Regions from separate parts of the Homo sapiens genome. Here region 2 is linked to region 1. Evidence: promoter capture Hi-C in human tissues and cell types (Jung and others, 2019). All regions are on one chromosome and are shown on one strand. The core of a region is centred on a gene start or on the middle of the fragment in contact, and the rest is flanking DNA. Distances in the headings are between cores, read along the strand shown.

Region 1 (7,368 bases), core at 4,869-7,368:
AAGTCATAGACAAGGACACTCTGTCTCATCACACAAGGTAAAATGCACTCAAATGTCCAATCTGCATGCAAAAACCCAGGGCTTTAAGGCGATGAAGAAGGATCCCATACCTCTCTTGGACCTCTCTGAAATCACATATGGGTAGATGATCCAGCAGACAACAGACACAATCAAACCACTTTTTTCCTGTCTGACTTTTCAACTAAAGACAGCCATTCCACTTCCGGTGTCTTGGTCTTATCACTGTAACTTGAGCTGAGACTTTACTTCCATGTCTCCCCCCACCCTCAGGAGTCCTCAGGGTTTCCACTAAAGCCCCCTTTCATTGAGCCTACAAGCCTTGCTGGGAGGCACAGGCAGCGTCCACCCCGATGATGTCCTCCCGCCGGCATCCCGCAGCCTTCGCCTTCCTGGTTCACCTGTCGCTTACCTGTCTCGCTCTCTCACCTCTGCTGGTCAGCAGGTAATGTTTTCGCTTTCTTCTGGGTTTGCTTTTCAGCCCCCCAGTGCCCCCTTCTTCCTCCTGCCTCGCTGCTTGGTGGGAAGTGTAGTTCTGGCCCCAGGTGTCGGGTTTGGCGTCCTGAGAAAGTGAAAGGAAAGTGCAATCCCTCCCACCTGCCCTGAGTCCGGAGCTGCCTCAGGGTACAAAGCGCCAGGTGAGGGCGGCCAGCACAGGGCAGGGCGCAGAGCCGGCTTTCTCACCAGCCTTCGCCGGCCTAGCGGAAAGCCCTCACAGGAAGGAACAGCCAGTGAATTAAACCAGTGCTGGCCCATACGACACTGCCCCTGCTCCTTTCTTCTACTTTACCTTGTCTTGTGGGCTTTTGCGTCCTTTGCTCTCAATTTGTCCTGGTGTCCCTTGTTAGGAAACAATTTCAGAATGTATCTCATGTAGTAACAGCGACTGTTTTGCAAAATGTTTGGGTCAGTTGTACATGTGCATATTGTACTGGGTGATGTAAAAAAAAAATTTTTTTTTTTTTTTTGGAGACAAGGTCTCACTCTGTCACCCAGGCTGAAGTGCAGTGGCACCATTCATGGCTCACTGCAGCCTCAACCTCCCGGGCTCAAGCAATCCACCTGCCTCAGCCTCCTGAATATCTGGGACTACAGCTGGCCTGAGGGTTGTTAGTTGAGATAACACCAACTAAAGGAGGATATAGATCTTAAGTAATTTATTTTATTATATATACATATTTTTTAGAGACAGGGTCTTGCTCTATGGCTCAGGCTGGAGTGCAGAGGCATAATTATGGCTCACTGCAGCCACAACATCCCAGGCTCAAGGAAGCCTCCCACTTCAGCCTCCCAAGTAGCTGGGACTACAGTCATACACCACCATGCCCCACTATTTATTGTTTTTAGAGCTGGGATCTCCCTATGTTGCCCATGGTGGTTTGACACTCCTGGGTTTGGCCAGGCATGGTGGCTCATGCCTGTGATCCCAGCACTTTGGGAGGCTGAGGTGGGCAGATCACCTGAGGTCAGGAGTTCGAGACCAGCCTGGCCAACATGGCAAAACCCCATCTCTACTAAAAATACAAAAATTACCCGGGTCTGGTGGTGAGCCTATAATCCCAGCTACTCTGGCAGGAGAATCGCTTGAGCCTGCGAGGTGGAGGTTGCAGTGAGCCAAGGTCGCGCCACTGCACTCCAGCCTGGGTGACAGAGTGAGACTCCGTCTCAAAAAAAAAAAGAAAAAAAGAGAAGAAACTCCTGGGCTCAAGTGATCCTCCTGCCTTGGCTTCCCGAAGTGCTGGGATTACAAGGCATGAAACCACCGTACCTGGCCAGATTGTAAGTAATTTAAGTCTTTGTTTTGTAGATCTGAATATCTCTTTGTGAGGAGTCAGAGAAAGGAGATGATGCAAAGAGAAGGAAGCAAAAACAAAACTAAAAGAACTTTGAAGGTATATGAGAAGAAAAAGCTGAAAAGAAAATGTCTGCCTCACTCCCTCAAAAATTCTACCATAGAGCAAAGGTTGACGTCCAGAAAACCTCAAGTTTATCAGTCCCAGATGCTGGCAGTAGAAGCATAAAGCTGAGGTGAATTTTCCTTACTATTTTTTCCCCAGAGTCTAGAACAGTAACTGCCTCCCAATGTCTATCACAGGGACCAGATTTTCTCCACTACATAGGATGTGATATGTAGGCAGTTAAATGGCATTATAGACACAATAAGCAAAATTGAAACAGAGACACCCTGTTGGATAAAATATTTACATCGGTGTCCTGTTTCCAAACTGTGGGCTGAGACCTATAAATGAGTCATGAAATCAACCTTTGTGGGTTGCAACCAGCATTTTCACAAGAAGGGATTAAGAAACAACTTCAGAATGTATCTTGTGTAGTAACAGTGACTACTGTTTTGCAAAATGTTTGGGTCAGTTGTACACATGCATATTTTACAGGGTGATGTAAAAAAAAAATGTTTTTTTTGAGACAGGGTCTCACTTTGTCTCCCAGGCTGAAGTGCAGTGGCACCGTCATGGCTCACTGCGGCCTCAACCTCCTGGGCTCAAGCAATCTTCCTGCCTTAGCCTCCTGTATATCTGGGACTACAGGTGTGCACCATCATGCCCAGCTATTTATTTCATTTTTTTGTAGAGCCAGGGCCTCACTTTGTTACCCAGACTGGTCTCGAACTCCTGGGATCAAGCAATCCTCCCACATCAGCCTCCCAAGGTGCTGGGATAACAGGCGTGGGCCACCGTGCCTGGCCTGAAATGTCTTTTTAACTGTAGGCTGGGGTCCGCAACGTTTGAGAAGCACTGAAATACAGGGCAATTTATTCACTGTCCAAGAACATTACTTCTATGATGTCTTCAGATAAATTTGAAAATATTTGTCTTACCCAAAATTCCAGTTACATATCCATTTTCAGGATACTCTCTTCTGAGTGAGATAAACTCAACACTGGCAGGTATAGCAAGAAAACAAAAGACTCTGCCAAATATTGCTGCAGGGTGAGAACCACCAGCACAATGTGGAAATCCAGTGTAGGTAAAGATTCGCCCCAAATGTGTGATCAGGAAATAAAACCTGTTAGGTGTCAGTGTCATGAAGTTCAGTGTCCAAATGTTGTCTTTCTTCTGGTAATGGTTACTTTTTTTTTTTTTTTCCTGAGATAAGGTTTAGCTTTTGTCACTCAGGCTCGAGTGCAATGGTGCGATCTTGGCTCACTGCAACCTCCACCTCCCGGGTTCAAGCGATTCTCCTGCCTCAGCCTCCCGAGTAGTTGGGATTACAGGCACCCGCCACCACGTCCAGCTAATTTTTGTATTTTTAGTAGAGATGGGGTTTCACTATGTTGGCCAGGCTGGTCTGGAACTCCTGACCTCAGGTGATCCACTTGCCTCGGCCTTCCAAAGTGCTGGGATTATAGGGGTGAGCCACCGCACCTGGGGTGGTTACTGTTTAAAAAAAAAGTCACCTGACTCAGACCCACTGAGCACTTGGAGAACATCTACAGGTAGAAAACAAATGTTACAAATATTTAAATATCCTGATGGTTTTGGAAGTCAAGGGGAGAGAGATCTTACCTCTGTCTACCACCCAACCCTCTCCACCAAGGTCACTATAAATACAAAGAGCATAGCTTGGGCTACAGGAAAGAAGGCATTCATATGTATAAATGTGTGTGTATATATACACTGTTTTTTCTTTTTTAAGAGACTGGGTCTCCCTCTGTCACCCAGGCTGGAGCACAGTGGTACGATCATAGCTCACTGCAGCCTCCAAAGGTGCGGCTGAAGTGATCCTCCTACCTCAACCTCCCTAGTAGCTGGGATTAAAGATACACACCACCACATGGCTAAGAAGGCATTCTAGCCCTGAGTGGTGGTGACACAGGTTATATACTTGAAGTATACACACACACATATATATGTATACACCCATATGTAAATATAACACAAAAAACTATGTATTTCACTCTATGTATATATATTTACCATTTTAACCGTTTTTAAGTGTACAATTCAATGGCATTAAATACATTGTTGTGCAACCAACATCACCATCCATCTCCAGGACTTTTTTGGCATCCCAAACGGAAACTCCATAGCCATTAAACAACAATTTCTCATTTCCCCTTCCCTCCAGCCATGGGCAACCACCATGCTACTTTCTGACTCTATGAATTTCACTACTCTGGCTACCTCATATAAGTGGAACTGTACTGTACTGGTCCTTTTATGTCTGACTTATTTCACTTAGCATAATGTTTTTGAAGGTTCGTCTATGTTGTAGTATGTGTCAGAATTTGCTACCTTTTTTAGGCTGAAAAATAAACGATTCACAATATATTTTTAAAAATAAAAGTAACATATTTGGCTCATTTATTTTTGCTCACCCTGACATCATATTTCTCCTTGGATGCCTAGAGACAAAACTACCACTGTATAAGGGCTAGAAACAAAACTACCACTGTATAAGGGCAAATAAAAATGAAAAATAACAGGCTTAATTCCTCTGCTGAAAATAAAGAGACTTCTCAGCCTTCTCTCTGTTCCTTCAAAATTTCTTTCTCTGTCCTTTTCGAATGTACACAAATCTTTATAACGGCGAAATGAGCCTCTTGCCAGTATCACAACTCAGAAATGTATCCTCAAGGACTTGGGGGTCATCTTTTTGAAATTCAGACGTGAGTTAGTGCCTGTATCTTCCAGTTCCTACATGAGGGTAAGAGACTAAATTAGTGGGTATGGGCGCCTTGCTCCAATTTGTAAAACTACCTCCTGCTATAAAGATATGCGAACTTTGGCCGGCTGCGGTGGCTCACACCTGTAATGCTAGAACTTTGGGAGGCCAAGGAGGGCAGATCACGAGGTCAGGAGATCGAGACCATCCTGGCTAACACGGTGAAACCCCGTCTCTACTAAAAATACAAAAAAATTAGCCAGGCGTGGTGGCGGGCGCCTGTAGTCCCAGCTATTCGGGAGGCTGAGGCAGGAGAATCCCTTGAACCCGGGAGGCGGAGCTTGCAGTGAGCTGAGATCACGCCACTGCACTCCAGCCTGGGTAACAGAGCAAGACTCCGTCTCAAAAACAAAAAACAAACAAACAAAAAGATATGCGAAGTTTAAAAAACGAACAACAACAACAAAAAGTTATGCGAAGTTTGTTTTGCTTCTGGATAAAGCCAACATGAGTGGTCTCCCCAATTACTACTATTAAGTAAGGAGGAACTATGTTTGACAAAAGGTGTTGTCAAGTTCTGTTATTTGAAGACTAGTGATTGTTTATCTTGAGAACAGGTATGTAATGGTTGTTGTGGAGATTTTCTGGATTAAGAGAAGTTTTTTTTCTTTAAAATTCGAACAAGTGTCTGTATTTTTTCCCTTTATTTAAGAAACGGTGGCGGCGGTGGTGGTGGTGGATGGGGGGCGGCTCTCACTACCTTGCCCAGGCTGGTCTCAAACTCTTGTTCTCAAATGATGCTCCTACTTCGGCCTCCCAAAGTGTTAGGATTACAGGTGTGAGACACTTGTGTTGGATTTTTTTTTTTTGGAGGCAGGGTCTCGTTCTGTTGCCCAGGCTGGTGCAGTGGAGCAATCACAGCTGCCAGCCTCAAACTTTTGGGCTCAAGCGATCCTCGCACCTCGGTCGCCCCAGTAGCAGGGACCACAGGCACATGCCACTACTCCTGGCTAATTTTAACATTTTTTGTAGAGATGGGGTCTGGCTATGTTGCTAAGGCTGGTCTTGAACTACTGGGTTCAAGTGATCCTCCCTTCTCGACCTCCTAAAGTGTTGGATTACAGGCGTGAGCCCACTGTGCCCGGCCTGCATTTAATTAGACACCTAAAATTTAGGCCGGTCAGTAGCACACTTAGCAGCACGTTACTTTTTATAAAAACAAAGACCGAATACCGCTTTTTTGAAAAAAAAAAAAAAAAAAAAAAAAAAAGGATGCACCAGTTCTCCCCATATCATTTCTTCTCTCTACCTCTCGTCTTTTGCAGCTAACATTACTGGCCAGGTCCGCAGCAGCAGAGTTCTGTGGGCTCCCAGCCTCCGCCCTCCTCGCCCTCCTCCGCGCCGGCAGGTGAGGCCGCGTGGCGGGACTACAACTCCCAGCGTGCCCCGCGACGGGAGGGTCACGTGGGCGTCCGGAAACCCTGGTCGCACCGCCAGGGGTGAGCTGGCGGCGGGGGAGGCGGGCAGCGGAGCCAAGCTGACCCGGCGAGCGGAGCCGGGGCTGGAGAGCGGCGACCACTGCGGATCTCGGGTGCGCAAGCGGTGATGCGTGGGGCCGAAGACCTGCTGGGGCGGGGGCGGGTCCAATCCGAGGGGCTTCCCGGGTCGGGAGGGCGGTGGGGAGATGTAGGTGGCGGCCCCCCTTGGGTGGGGCGCCCAGGCAGGGTCGGCCGCTCGCCCCCTCCTTCTCCTCCCTGGGCCCGGGCCTGGGGTCCCGGCCGTCACGGGGAGGCTGCGATGGGGTGGATGGGGAGGAGAAGGACCCCCGGGGGACCCTGCGGCCCGGCCCCGATCCATGCGGCAGAGGCTTTTGTGCTCCTCGCCCGCCTGTCCTCCGGCCGTGGGTCTGGGAGATTCTGACTTGATCAGAAAAGGGCTTGTCGTTCGGACCAGGGGAGAGGGGATGCTTTTCAGGTAGGTGGGGAAGGAAGCTCTTTGGAAAGGATGTATAGAGGTCAGAGAAGAAGCGTGGTCTCAGTGAGTGACTGGTTTTGTTTTCTGGTAACTAGCATGAACTCAGTCAAGGAATTTGGTCAAATTATTCGTCATTCCCTCCTTATTCTTCGCAGGGTGTGTTCTGTTTATTCTCAGTTTTGACAGGAGATAATGGGAATGTGTCCCCGGAGTTTTTAGTGTTTTTTTGAAATGTAAGATGGTAGGCTATCTCGTGGTAACTCTTACTGAAAAGTTTATAGTTTATAGGGAGGAGTGGTTCCTGGGGTGAGCAAAATCATTCAGTTGTTATCTTTTTGTCCACCGGTTTATTTCTACCTTTACACAAATTTATACATACATAAATATATATAACAGTTGTTGAAGGGAATGTCTTCAGTGCTTTGGTGCTTAAATGATTTCTTTTCAGTTTGTTTGATGTTTCTTGGATACTAGGCTCTATACTAAGAACTCCATATAAATTATCTCATTTAATTAATACATGAGGAAATTGAGCTTCGGGTTGGGCGCGGTGTCTCATGCCTGTAATCCCAGCACTTTGGGAGGCCGAGGCCTGTGGATTCCTTGAGGTCAGGAGTTCAAGACCAGCCTGGCCAACATGGTGAAACCCCGTCTCTACTAAAAATACAAAGATTAGCTGGGCGTCGTGGCGCATGCCTGTAATCCCAGCTACTCGGGAGGCTGAGGCAGGAGAATCGCTTGAACCTGGGAGGC
Region 2 (7,750 bases), core at 4,612-7,111, 150 kb after region 1:
GAACTAATAGGATGTATGTATATAGAGAGAAAGAGATTTATTTTAAGGAATTGGTTCATGTGATTATGGAGGCTGAGAAGTCCCAAGATCTGCAGTTGGCAAGCTGGAGACCCAGAAGAGCCAATGGTGTAGTTCCAGTCTGACTCAGGCAGGAGAAATTCACTCTTACTCTCAGGAGGGTCAGCCCTTTTGTCCTATTCAGGCCATCAACTGACCGGTTGAGGCTCCCCCATCATTAATTAGGGAGGGTGTCTGCTTTAATCAGTCTACAGATTTAAATGTCATTGTCACCCAGAAACACCCTCAAAGACATATCCTGAATAATGTTTGACATTAACTTTAATTAAATTAATGTTGACACATAAAATTAACCATCACTGCATCCTTTGTGTGTAACAATTTTTTTCTTTTTACTTTTTAAATGTGGTTATTAGAAAGTTTTTCTTTGTTTTAAATTTTTTGTTTCTATAGGTTATTGGAGAACAGGTGGTGTTTGGTTACATGAGTAAGTCCTGTAGTGGTGATTTGTGAGATTTTGGTGCACACATAACCCAAGCAGTACACAATGCACCCAATTTGTAGTCTTTTATCCTTCACCCCCTTCCTACTCTTTCCCTGAGTCCCCCAAATCCATTGTGTCATTCTTATGCCTTTGCATCCTCATAGCTTAGCTCCCACTTATGAGTGAGAAAATACGATGTTTGATTTTCCATTCCTGAGTTATATCACTTAGAATAATAGTCTCCAATCTCATCCAGGTCGTTGTAAATGCCATTAATTCTTTCCTTTTAATGGCTGAGTAGTATTCCATTGTATAGATATACCACAGTTTCTTTATCTACTCATTGATTAATGGGCATTTGAGTTAGTTCCACATTTTTGCAATTGCAAATTGTGCTGCTATAAACATGCATGTGAAAGTATCTTTTTCGTATAATGACTTCTTTTCCTCTGGGTAGATACCCAGTAGTGGGATTGCTGGATCTAATGATAGTCTTACTTTTAGTTCTTTAAGGAATCTCCTGTGTGTAACAAACTGAGTTCTCTCCTATGCATCTTGAATGGTTCTAGTATAATTAGTCATTCAATCTTTCTATATTCTGTAGTTCACATGAGGGACCCCTGTTGAGAAACCTGTTTAGAGGAAATAAAGACATAGAGGGACAAGTTAAATGGCACTACAAGAAAACAATCAGAAAAATCCAGAATGTGGAATATTTTTCAAAACCACTAACATAGTTTCTTTTAAAAGTCAATGTGAATATATATATATATATACAAATTATATATATATATATAAATTTTAAAATAAACTTTTATAAAATAGAGACAGGGTCTCACAATGTTACTCAGGCAGGTCTCCAACTCTTGGGCTCAAGTGGTCCTTCCACCTTGGCCTCCCAAAGTGCTGGGTTTACAGGCATGAGCCACTGTGCCTGGCCACTTATGTAACTTCTTTGGGCCATACTTTCCTCATCTGTAAAATGGACAGAATATCATCTACCTTGCAGAGCTACTGAGAAGATGAAAGATACTGAATATAAAGCTCTTTATACTCATTGATACTCAATGAGTAGTACAATGCCTAGACACAATGGTTGGTAGCTATTATTACTGGTGCTGGTTTTTGGGAAACCAATAAAGGTGACCGAAATGCAGTGTAAGGGAAATACAGGTAAATATGAAAGGACTCTGCCTTACTCCAGAATATGGAGTACTAGATAAAAGAACAGGAGCAGAGAGTTCAGAAAACCAAAACAAAACCCATAAGCCATAAAAAATGTTGATAAATTTGACTATGTAAAAAACAGAAATTGGGGCCGGGCGTGGTGGCTCACACCTGTAATCCCAGCACTTTGGGAGGCCGAGGCGGACGGATCACGAGGTCAGGAGATCGAGACCATCCTGGCTGACATGGTGAAACCCTGTCTCTACTAAAAATACAAAAAAAATTAGCCAGGCATGGTGGCGGGCGCCTGTAGTCCCAGCTACTCTGGAGACTGAGGTGGGAAAATGACGTGAACCTGGGAGGAGGAGCTTGCAGTGAGCAGAGATCGCACCACTGCACTCCAGCCTGGGTGACAGAGCGAGACTCCGTCTCAAAAAAAAAGAAAAAGAAAAATAGAAATTGGGCTGGGCACAGTGGTTCACGCCTGTAATCCCAGCACTTTGGGAGGCCAAGGCAGGCAGATCACGTGAGGTCGGGAGTTCAAAACCAGCCCGACCAACATGGAGAAACCCTATCTCTACTAAAAATATAAAATTAGCCGGGCGTGCTGGCGCATTACCTGTAATCCTAGCTACTCAACAGGCTGAGGCAGGAAAATTGCTTGAACCCGGGAGTCAGGGGTCGCAGTGAGCTGAGATCATGCCATTGCGCTCCAGCCTGGGCAACAAGAGCAAGACTCCATCTCAAAAAAAAAAAAAAAAAAACTGCAGGGCAAAAATCACTATAAACAAAGTCAAAGAACAAACTGGGAGGAATATTTTCTTTCTTTTTTTTTTTTTTTTTTGAGACGGAGTCTCACTCTGTCACCCAGGCTGGAGTGCAGTGGCGTGATCTGGGCTCACTGCAACCTCTGCCTCCCAGGTTCAAGTGATTCTCCTTCCTCAGCCTCCCGAGTAGCTGGGATTACAGGCATGCACCACCACGCCCGGCTAATTTTTGTATTTTTAGTAGAGACGGGGTTTCACCATATTGGTCAGGCTGGTCTTGAACTCCTGACCTCGTGATTCGCCCGCCTTGGCCTCACAAAGTGCTGGGATTACAGGCATGAGCCATCGTGCCCGGCCGAATATTTTCAATTTATATCAAGCAGAGCTCATGTCCTTACTGAGGAAGGACATCCATAAATTAGGAGAATGACCTGCAAAAAGCCCAGGGAGGCTGGGCGGGGGGATTCATGCCTGGAATCCGAGCCCTGCGAGGGGCCGAGGTGGGCGGATGGCTTGAGCCCAGGAGTTCAAGACCAGCCTGGGCAACATGATGAAACCTTATCTCTACAAAAATACAAAAATTAGCTGGGCGTGGTGGCATGCACCTATAGTCCCAGCTAGTTGGGAGGCTGAGATGGGAGGATTGCTTAAGCCTGGCAGATTGAGGCTGCAGTGAGCCGTGATTGCGCCACTGCACTCCAGCCTGGCTGACAGAGTGAGTCCCTGTCTTAACCCGACAAAAAGGGAGCCCAAAGAACATAAATTCCATGGTTTCTCCAGGCCCTTCCAGAGGCACCCATCGGGGTGCAGGACAGTGGGACAGATGGTTCTTTAGGCTTCCTAATGTCCCAGCTCTAATACCTCTCTACAGCCTCCATGTCCCTCTTCTTTGGATTTTATACTAAGTCCTTTTCAGACACATTATTAGGAACCAATAAATATCTGTTGAGTGATTTCACATGTTAGAGTGCACTTGTTTCCTAGGGCTGCCATTAACCAAGTGTCACAAGCTGGTTGGCTTAAAAACAGTGGAAAATTCTCTCTCACCATTCTGGAGGCTAGAAGTTGGAAATCAAAGTGTCAGGAGAGCTATGCTCCCCCTGAAGGCTCTAAGGGGGAGGGCCTTCCTTGCCCCTTCCTAGCCTCTGGTGGCCCAGGCATCCTTGTCTTACGGCAGCATCGCCCTACCCTCTGCCTTCCTCTTCACATGGTCATATGCCCTGTGTCTTTGCGTCTGTGATATCTCCTCATCATATAAGGACACCAATTGTTAGATTTAGGGCCCACCTAAATTTACATCCATAATGATTGCATCTCAAGATCCTTAACTAATTACATCTGTAAAGGCTCTTTTAAAAATAAGATCAGGCCAGGCACCGTCGCTCACACCTGTAATCCCAGCACTTTGGGAGGTTGAGGTGGGCAGATCATGAGGTCAAGAGATAGACCATCCTGGCCAACATGGTGAAACCCCGTCTCTACTAAAAATACAAAAATTAGCTGGGCGTGGTGGCACATACCTGTAGTCCCAGCTTCTTGGGAGGCTGAGGTTGCAGTGAGCTGAGATCATGCCACTGCACTCTAGCCTGGCGACAGAGTGAGTCTCTGTCTCAAATAAATAAATAAATAAATAAGATCATATTCTAAAGTTCCAAAGTTCTGGGTGGATGTGAGTGTATTTTTTGGGCAGGGGGTGAACACTATTCAACCTGCTACACAGAGCTTTTTCAGTTGCAAATGACAGGAAACCTCATCTAAGGAGCTTAAATAAATGATTATTGGCAATCCTAGCAAAATATATCTAGTATGTTACCCTGAACAATATCGGGCTTTGATGAGGTTACAAGTCCATCTCTAAACTAATCACTGCAGCCAGGCCAGAGGCTGTACCTGAGCTCTTGAACCAGGGGTAGATTCAGTTCCACTGAAAGCACACAGACTGAGGAGATTATTTGCAGATACCATTACCAGGAGAAGGGGGAGCAGGTGCTAGGTGGTAGAAAACGTAGCCACCTGCTAGCATGGTCTTCCTCCACAGTCAGTCAGCTCTTGGGCAGCAGTGACTCTTCTCATATCTGCATTCCAGGGCCTTGAAGAACAGCAGGACTTCAAATAAATATTTACTGAGTTGTTTTTGAATTTTTAACATGATTCAGTCTCCAAGGGCTTCATTCATGGTAAATCTGCAATCCGGCGTCTGATCCAGGGTGAGCCTTCCCCACGGAGGCACTGTCCTTTGTAAGGCCCTTCTAGGTAGACCAGCTGGCCATCTGTTATGTAACCATCCATTCTTCAAAACTTCCATAAAAGAGAAGCAAGAAAGAAGGGTTTGGATCATGTTAGGGTCAAAGAAGGGCAGGAGAGAAATACAAGTGGTAGATGAAACTGAGCATCAAAGAAATACATCCCCACCTTTCCCCTTTGTTCTAACACACACACAAATCTCATTATCTGCAGGGTTGGACTATTGTTACCCTCACATACCCTGGAGTCCTGGTGGAGAATACAGGATTCTGGGTTTAGGCATGTGTCATTCGGTGGTTTAGGCCTGAAATATTGTGCCTTAAACACCCACAGAGGGGCCTTATATCCCAAACACCAGAAGAGCCAATGCCCAGAGGGTGAAATCAGACAGCCCTTAAGCTAGATGAAGCTGGAATTGGTAACCACACTATGGAGTTTAATTTGCTGACCTAGATGTAGTCTGCAGCCCACAAAACCTCATACCACAGCAAAGCTTTTTCTTGTGCTGAGACAGCTGGCTGAGCATGATGTTGCAATGACTCAGTTCTCAGTAAAGGGTCTGAGGAAATTAGGGGCAGGGCTACAGCCCCAAGACCACAGCTCCAAGAGACCTTCCTGTTTATTCATGGGTGAGAGAAGGGGAACCTTCTGTTTGTGGGCACTGGTATTTCATCAGAAGAGACAAGGCTGGACTCTGGGTTTGAGCTGTGTGTACACAGTCAACACATGACAGTCAGACAATTATACTCAGAGTGAGAATTCATATCTAGCCACATAGGCCAAAAGCATCTCTAAAAGCTGTTCTTAGGCCAGGCGTGGTGGCTCACACCTGTAATCACAGCACTTTGGGAGGCCAAGGCAGGTGGATCACAAGGTCAGGAGTTCGAGACCAGCCTGGCCAACATGGTGAAACCCCGTCTCTACTAAAAATACAAAAATTAGCTGTGCATGATGGTGCACGCCTGATGTCCCAGCTACTCAGGAGGCTGAGGCAAGAGAATCGCTTGAACCCAGGAGGCAGAGGTTGCAGTGAGCCGAGATCACACCACTGCACTCCAGCCTGAGTGAAAGAGCCAGACTCCATCTCAAAAAATAAATACATAAATAAATAAAAGCTGTTCTTAAAACTATGTGAATCAAATCACATTTTTACTTGACTTCCATTTTAAAACTGGACATAGGTTTATATGAGGAGGCCTAGTTCAATAAAACGAGAGTTGAAAACTCTGTGGGCTCGGAGGACTTCCCATTAAACATAGCCGGTTGAACATGTGCATACTCCTGGGCCTCCTCCCAAAACCCCACTAAAATGTGAGGCAAGAGACTTTTTTTGAAAAGCATAAGTCCATAAGAGAGGTAAGAGCAAAGAGAAGGATCAAAAAGATTTTTAAGCTGGAAATTTGAGAGATAATGAACCTCACACACCAGAGTAAAGGGTCTCAAAATGGGGAAGCCAAGAAAACAAGCCAATCCATGCCTCTGAAACACCCCAAAGGCTTAGGAATTGGAGGTACCAGATACTTCTGAAAAGGCATGGCTGCGGCTGAAAACTAGAGCACTGATTAAAAGTTTTCTTCCAACCTGGGCAACATAGTAAGACCCCATCTCTACAAAAAACACAAAAATTAGCCAGGGGCTGGTGATGCACACCTGTGGTCCCAGCTACTCAGTAGGCTGAGGCAGGAGGATCACTTGAGCCCAGGAGGTTGAGGCTGCAGTGAGTCATGCTCGGTCCACTGCACTCCAGCCTAGGCAACAGGGCAAGAAAAAAATAAAAATAAAAAGTTTTCTTAAGCAATAGTTAAGGCTGGGCACGGTGGCCCACGCCTGTAATCCCAGCACTTTGGGAGGCCAAGGCGGGCAGATCACTTGAGGTCAGGAGTTTGAGACCAGCCTTGCCAACATGGTGAAACCCCCTCTCTACTAAAAATACAAAAATTAGCCAGGCATGGTGGTGCATGCCTGTATTCCCAGCTACTCAGGAGGCTGAGGCAGGAGAATCATTTGAACCTGGGAGGCAGAGGTTGCAGTAAGCTAAGACGGTGCCACTGCACTCCAGCCTGGGCCACAGAGCGAGACTCCATCTCAAAAAAAAATGAGAGTTAATCCCTGCAGTTCTTCCCTTAGCCTATGCAACAAGCTACTACTTTCTCTCAGCCTTCATCAGAGACGGACCACTTATTGTATGGGGAGTTTGAGTTAGAGGAACTTTGGACTTAGGAACAACTGAAGGTGGAAGATGAGTATCAAAGAAGGGGGATGAAATGAAAGTCAATGTACCAACCCGTGCTGTCCTCATATTTGACTCCTAGACACTGGCAGACACATTTATAACTATGGGGAGGGAGTTCAGAGAACTCCCATAGGAAACTGACCACCAAAAGAAGAGACATGGAAATGTATCATAGGGGATTCCCCCAAGAATGACTGGCCCCTGTCTGATCACCCCATTCTAAAATCACTCCATCATACATGCAAATCTTTCTTTGTTTTGCTTTGTTTTGTTCTGTTTTGTTTTGAGATGGAGTCTTCCTCTGTCACCCAGGCTGGAGTGCAGTGGTACAATCTTGGCTCACTGCAACCTCCGCCTCCCGGGTTCAAGGGATTTTCCTCCCTCAGCCTCCCGAGTAGCTGGAATTACAAGTATGTGCCACCACGCCCAGCTAATTTTTATATTTTTAGTAGAGACAGGATTTTGCCAGTCGGCCCTGCTGGTCTCGAACTCCTGACCTTAGGTGATCCACCAGCCTCAGCCTCCCAAAATGCTGGGATTACAGGCGTGAGCCACCGCACCCAGCCAATATTGTTTCTTAAAACTGAATATTCAGTGAATAAAAGCATTCATGGAAGGTTGAGCTGTGATAGTAGAAACTAAAAATTCAAGACGTCAGGTGTGGTGGCTCATGCCTGTAATCCCAACACTTTGGAAGGCTGAGGCAGGAGGATCTCTTGAGCCTAGGAATTCGAGACCAGCTTGGGCAACATAGCGAGACCCTGTCACTACAAAAAATAAAAAATTTGTCAGGCATGGTGGCACATGCCTGTTGTCCCACCTACTTGGGAGGCCAAG

Evidence for each region. The method cuts DNA at HindIII sites, captures the fragments that hold promoters and counts their contacts. A contact is called where the count stands out against the background at its distance.
Region 2: a fragment that was not itself captured here is called in contact with the fragment with the promoter of SLC37A3 in region 1 in 1 of the 25 tissues and cell types used here (neural progenitor cells).

The regions. Positions count from the first base shown.
Region 1 is chr7:140,397,280-140,404,647 of GRCh38, reverse strand. SLC37A3 (solute carrier family 37 member 3) reads left to right here and starts at 6,118. Exons shown (of 15, transcript NM_207113.3): 1 at 6,118-6,232. It overlaps RAB19 (RAB19, member RAS oncogene family), which reads right to left and starts at 590. Exons shown (of 4, transcript NM_001008749.3): 1 at 431-590. LOC124901759 (a long non-coding RNA gene) reads left to right here and starts at 180. Exons shown (of 2, transcript XR_007060561.1): 1 at 180-463; 2 at 1,826-3,065. RefSeq lists enhancers at 16-515, 516-1,017 and silencers at 5,971-6,200, 6,311-6,580. The HindIII fragment of the contact is 36,664 bases long and covers 1-7,368 here.
Region 2 is chr7:140,250,540-140,258,289 of GRCh38, reverse strand. It overlaps LOC107986854 (a long non-coding RNA gene), which reads right to left. Exons shown (of 2, transcript XR_001745386.2): 2 at 4,081-4,734. Among named protein-coding and RNA genes, the nearest start is that of KDM7A-DT, 77 kb to the right of the region's middle. RefSeq lists enhancers at 5,357-5,426, 5,457-5,506. The HindIII fragment of the contact is 7,260 bases long and covers 2,232-7,750 here.